Linked DNA regions of Homo sapiens: region 2 is linked to region 1. Evidence: promoter capture Hi-C in human tissues and cell types (Jung and others, 2019). All regions are on one chromosome and are shown on one strand. Each heading gives the region's core, a stretch centred on a gene start or on the middle of the fragment in contact. The rest is flanking DNA. Distances are from core to core; before and after follow the strand shown.

Region 1 (3,156 bases), core at 214-2,713:
AAACTTGTTTCATTTACTAAATATATGAGTACCTGTGTATTGAGTGATAATGTAAAACATATTTATTTTGATGGATTGTGCTCAAAAAAGTTTGAAAAGCTCTGCGCTGGACAAGCTGGTAGGATTCTGCTACAAAGATGTAATAAACAACATTCTTAAAGTAATCCCTCTAGTAAATGCAGAGGTATCATGAATTTTTTTAAACAGCATCTCTTAATATAAGCAAATGGCATAGTGCTAAACATGACTTGGTTCATGCAATGTTGCCAACGGTGAAGACAAAATGGTACAAACATACAGTTTTTTGGTGGTCTGGTTTAATCCAGGGCAAAACGCAGTCCAGTGGTTGCTTTTGTTTTTAGAGGCAGGGCTGGCTATGTCGCCCAGGCTGGAACCTGTGAATATGTTACCTTATATGCAAAGGGCACTTTACAGATGTGATTAAGGACCTTAAGATGCGGGAGATTATCCTAGGAGATCTTTTTTAATCTCCTAGAGCCTGGTACCTAGTAGGACGTCATTATATGGTAGGTTTCTTGCAGCCCTTTGGTGGCCAGGTAGTTTTTAATTTTGTAGAGATGGGGGCCTCCCAGTGTTACCCAGGCTGGTCTTGAACTTCTGGGTTCTAGCAATCCTCCTGCCTTGGCCTCCCAAAGTGCTGAGATTATCGGTGTGAGCCACTGCGCCCGGCCTAGTCCAGTGGTTTGAAGTTTGAAGTTACCAGTCACCCATTATGACCATTTTGAGTTTTTTGATGAAAAGGACTGGATGAACTAGTTGCCAAATGTAGCCTCCCCCGAAGCAATACAATGAATCCACCTGCCGTATCAAGTTACTGGCTATCAATCAGCTAATTTTAGAGAACATCTGCCTCAAATAATTAGGCTAGTATTAGGAGAGTTGAATTTCTTCCCCACACTGCTAGAGAGTAGGACCCAGGACCACAGAAGCCATTCTTAGTTCAGGCCAGTAAATACATTAGCATACAGCTGGACCCTCTGTTGCATGGGGCAGGCATTCAGATGGTTCTCATAGGTTTGTAGCTAAAACATATCCCTGAGAATCGTCATTTGATCTGTCAGGAGTCTTCTCAGCCCCTGCGTGGGGACAAACACCCTCCCCCCAGCATTTTCCCGTCTTTTTAGGCCAGCTCCCCACTCACTGCAGTTCAAGGCTTGCAGCCCTTGCTCCAACTGGCTGGGGCTTGATGGGCTTGACTCCGAGTGAGAAGAGTGGCCTGAGCATCAATCACCTCAGTACTGTGATATTCCTGCTACAAAGCTTTATTTTACGTAACACGTGGCTGCTCCTCTGTGCCCCAGACGGGGTTTTAGGTCCTTCTCTAAGGCGAGCTGCCCTTGGGCGCGCCTGGGGCTGCACCTGGGTCACGTGGGCGCCGTTGTGCAGCCGGCACCTCCCGGCCAACCCCGCGGCTTGGAGAAGGGGCTTTGCACCCGCCGCCGCTGTTTGTCCTCGCGCGGCCCCCGTCCACTGCCCTGCGGTTGCTCTGCGGGCTGAAAAGTTTCTCCCGGTGCAGAATTCCGGGCTCAGCGACAGCCTGCGCCGAGTGTGCGCACCTGTCGGAGACCCGCCAGTCCGCCGGCCGCGGTGAGTGGTCCCTGGAGTCACTGGCTCAGGGCGGGCCCGCGGGATGGGGCGGGCGGCCCGGGGCGCAGCCGGCCAGGCCGTTGCTATGGCAACGCGGTGGAAAAACGGGCCTCTGGGTATCTCGCTGCCGGCCGGCTGGTAACCCCCCAGCGGAGGGACCGGGCCGAGCCCGCGGACCCCTCCGAGTGTCTCCTGGGGCCCAGCCGTTGGTACCCCATTTCCCCCGGGTCCGGTATTTGGGGTGGTCTCTGTCTGCCCCGGTTCATCTCCACCGTCTCACCTTCACCCCATCTTGGGACGTGAAACTTTTTGAAAGTTTAGAAGCGAACTTACTGTGGGGTAAGTGTGTGGGAAACATCCTTAGAAGTTCTGAAGTTGTGTTTCTTTTTTTTAAACTGCTAGAGCCTGGTACCTAGTGGGACCCCATTATATGGTAGGTTTCCTGTTGCCCTTAAGATAGTCTCTTGCACCTAGAGGCTGCACATAGGAGGTGAAAGGATGACATAAAGCAGCCCCGTACTGGCTCTGTGGACAGGTAATTTAAGAACTCTCCCTCAGCTTCCTAAATGTAGATTATAATTTCTCACAAGGTCGTGGGTTTCAGTGAACCTATATGTGAAGCTGTTTTGTGAACAGTACATGTGAAAAGCACTTGAGCGTTAGTAAGGGATATTTGCATGCTAAGAGTGGTCTGGTGCTCCCCGTCCCATATCACCAGCTAAGAAGGACCTTCTTTTTTGCCTGACCACCAAATGACTCCAATATCCAACCAGAAAATAGGATAGTCCTGCCTTGAAAGAGGGCTCTGTGAATGGAAAGGAACATCAACAAGTTTTGAACCCAAACTCTTTCCTTGTTCTCCAGGCCCGTGCCTTTAGACAGTGATGGATATGCAGATATATCGCGCATTTAAATTTTTAGCTCGTGTAAATCTCTGTTGCTATCTCAATGGGTCATACCAACCTCTAGTTTGCAAATCAGAAATCTTGGCCTCATCCTTGACACCTCGCACTTTCTTCCTTTCCATATCCAAACAATCATCAAGTTCTATTCATTTTATCTTCAAACCAAATCTCAAATCCATTTGAGTATCTCTGTCTCTGCTACTATTACCCTAGACCAATCTACCATGATCTGTTGTCCAGTAGTAGCCTCTTAACTAATCTAAAGGTATTTATCCTTTCCTTTCAATATTCCCATCCATTCTTTGCCCTGCAGCAGGAGTAGTATTTTCACAACTAAAATTTGATTATGCTACCCCCCAACCTCCTCTAGCTCAAAATCCATCATGGCTTCTCATTATTCTTAGAATAAAGACAAAACTCTTAATGTGGCCAAAAAGTTGGGTGACCATGTACATGACCATCCAGACCAAGATATTTTTGAGAGTTCGAGGCTGCAGTGAACTTGCCACTGCATTCCAGCCTGGGCAATGGAGTGAGACCCTGTCTCAAAAAAAAATAAAAAAACAGTTCCCAAAAATGAAATTATAGGGAGGTCAAAGGGCAGGAACATTGTGAATGCTCTCAAAACATCGAAACATTGCCA
Region 2 (3,156 bases), core at 208-2,707, 1.1 Mb after region 1:
AGGCTTCTCAGAAGACTAAACTACTGTGTTAGGTAGGCAGGTGCCTTATCTCTGGCATTCCCATGCAGCAACTTCTGTAAGAGTCAGAGAGCTTCTTTCTATAAAGGGATGCACAAAGTCAAGTCTCCCAGCTGTGGTAGGACCATGCTCCCCTCAGCCACTTTCAGGAAGGACATGGAGCCCTGCACCAGCCTCTTTGCAGCTGTTCCTGCACAATAATTGCATTTGTGCTTGTGTGTGTATATGTGTACAGTGGCCTAGAAATGCCAAGCACCATTATGTAAAAACCAGTGATGGGCTGGGCCAAGGCAGGAAGTTCTAGGCAGGGGTTTCCCATGGTCATGCTGTGTCTGAGTCCTTTGGGGATTGCCAAAGTCCTCTTAAGCCCAGAAGGGTAGAAGCCAAGTATAGTCACAGGTGCAGTGCTGTTTATCCCTCAGATATGGCCGTGACCTGGCTGCACCAGGGGCTGACAAGTGTCTGGCAGGATCCCTGACAGCAGAGAGTGTCTAGGAAGGTGAGGCCTGGAAATCACAGGATTGGTCAGTGGCAGAGCAGGTCCTCAGCCCCACCTCAGGAAAAGGCTGTCTCCAACCTGCACTGTGCTTGGTGGTAACTGGGTGGAGTTCCCTTTGTACTTTCTAGGAGCCAGCTGGTCTCCACCACTATGTCCAACTACCAGAATAGGGCAAATAATTTAGGATTAGAACCCAAAGAAGTGAGATCATGCACTAGAATAATTTCAAGTAGTGAGTAAAAGTTTAATCTTCCTTCCCAGTCATTAACCCCTGTATAATTACAGCTTCAAGACTGAAAGCTACCTTTCCCAAACTAGTGATTTTTCCTTGTTCCCTGGAGTCAAAGAAGGTCATAAGTTGAAGGTAGGTGGGGGAATCTTTCCTAATTTATATAAACACTTCTACAAGGACCTGCCGTCTTTATATAAACATCAGAAGACTTGAGGACCATGCTGGGGTCTTTTCTTTTCAAAGCCAGAAAAGGCCCACTGAGGGGCAATGGGTCCCACTGAGGCTTCACACATAGAAGTAGTCCTTTAGGAGGGATAATTGGTACCAGCAGAGAAGGGTACTGCTATAAAGGTAAAACTTGTTTCTGGAAGGTTTACTTACCAGTTGTTTATAGAGTTCATAAGCTCATCTCTAGAGCCCTGAATACAAATGTCTTCAGGTATTTGAAGAAAGGATTTCATTAGTCTTTGAGCTTTGAATTAGGCAAATTTTAAAAACTGCCTTTCTTTGATAAATTTAAATCTAAATCCAAGATCAAGCCTCTGGATACAGCTGCTGTGCAAAAGGAATTTTATCTAAATTGTGTGAATGTCTTGAAGATGATGTTCACTTGGTAGAAAAAAAAACTATCAATATTCCTATGTCAAATGGTTTTGAAATAACTTTAATTCAATGAATAAATTATTGGAATAATAGCTATAATAAATCTAGTATTGAGCCAAAAAATTAATTTTTCTATTATCTTTAATGTTTAAAATCACAAATTCAATTTTCAAAAAATAAAGAAAATGGATAAAAGCAATACCATCCATGTGCTATAAACTATAATATGCAATATTATCATCAATCCATTTCATATTGATATATATACTTTTTAAATTGTCTGGCAATGGTCATCCAGCTTTCACAGAGTAATCTATCTTAAGATATAGTTTAGGGAGGCAAAATCAATGACTCAAGAGGACAGAATCTGTGGCCCAGGTCCTTTTGACTTATTCTTTCCTTTCTACCAGGAGGAGGTGTCATGAGAACCACTAGCTGTTGTGAAAGTTTGGCATTAGCCTATGGATGAGCTGGGAGACCCTAATGACAGAGGCTTAGTCAAAATTTCTGGACTTCAGGGCTGGCTCCTGATCCTCTGAGGCCTTGTGGGCCATCTTTAATCTTTGTTGTTAATCCTTCCCAGGCCCAGAGCTCCTGGACACAAGTGGGAAGACACCAGGGAGTGAGGTGACAGAGGTGATCACGCAGCTAGTTGAATTTTGCAGCCCATATGCCCAGGGATCCCAGCAGCAAGTGACAAGTCTTTTGAGTGGAAGAAGGAAGTGGGTTCCTGCCATAGTCCTTGGGAGAAGCTTGATCTGTTCTCTTGGGAGACTGAGCAAAGAGAGCTTTATATCAGGGACACTGGAAGCAGGTCTGTGGCACTGCTCAGAGCTTGCTCCTTCCTTCCTTCCTTCCTTCCTTCCTTCCTTCCTTCCTTCCTTCCTTCCTTCCTTCCTTCCCTTCCTTCCCTTCCTTCCCTTCCTTCCCTTCCTCCCTCCCTCTTTTTCTTTCTTTCTCTATCTCTTTCTCTCTCTCTTGCTTGCTTGCTCACTCGCTTTTTCTTCCTCCAAAAGAACAGAGACTATTTTTGCCTCACATTCATCCTGGGCTTAGGGATGAAGACCAGGGCTCTCTCCTGCAGCTCCTAGATTGCCAATGTTCTCTTTTCCCATTTGCCTTGGAAGTTGTCCTGTAAGTCTTCCTTGGGGTACTTTCTTGACTTGTGGGACTTTTTTTCCAATTATTTTCTTTTCCTCAGTTTTCTATTTCACTTCTTCCATGAAGGTCAGCCTATCTTGGAATGCACTTGATAGAAAGTAGAATAGTGGGGCTGGGCGTGGTGGCTCATGCCTGTAATCCCAACACTTGGGAAGGCCAAGGCGGGTGGATCACCTGAGGTCAGGAGTTCGAAGCCAGCCTGGCCAACATGGCAAAACCCTGTCTCTACTAAAAATACACAAAAATTAGCTGGGTGTGGTGGTGGGCGCCTGTAATCCCAGCTATTCAGGAGGCTGAGGCAGGAGAATTGCTTGAACCTGGGAGGCGGAGGTTGCAGTGAGCCGAGATTGTGCCACTGCACTCCAGCCTGAAGTGGAGCGAAAATCCATCTCAAAAAAAAAAAAAAAAAAAAAAGAAAGAAAGAAAGAACGAACAAAGAATAGTGTATGCTATCCCAGAAAGGCCCCATTCATAACATGCCTCTCCTCTTGAAAGCTGATCTCAGAGACATACCAGCATTTCCTGAACATTGCCAAAGGCTTGACTCTGTCTTAGATGATCCCAAAGCAACACCTCTATAGCTGCGGAAGTGTCCACGGTGATTGCCAAAGGATACTGAGGGGTGTCCTTCCTCTTTGGTCCC

The links. The method cuts DNA at HindIII sites, captures the fragments that hold promoters and counts their contacts. A contact is called where the count stands out against the background at its distance.
Region 2: a fragment that was not itself captured here is called in contact with the fragment with the promoter of STK33 in region 1 in 1 of the 25 tissues and cell types used here (spleen).

The regions. Positions count from the first base shown.
Region 1 is chr11:8,592,535-8,595,690 of GRCh38, reverse strand. STK33 (serine/threonine kinase 33) reads left to right here and starts at 1,463. Exons shown (of 16, transcript NM_001352389.2): 1 at 1,463-1,608. RefSeq lists a silencer at 1,641-1,900. The HindIII fragment of the contact is 7,731 bases long and covers 1-3,156 here.
Region 2 is chr11:7,471,140-7,474,295 of GRCh38, reverse strand. No RefSeq gene overlaps it. Among named protein-coding and RNA genes, the nearest start is that of SYT9-AS1, 6.9 kb to the right of the region's middle. RefSeq lists an enhancer at 249-478. The HindIII fragment of the contact is 8,532 bases long and covers 1-3,156 here.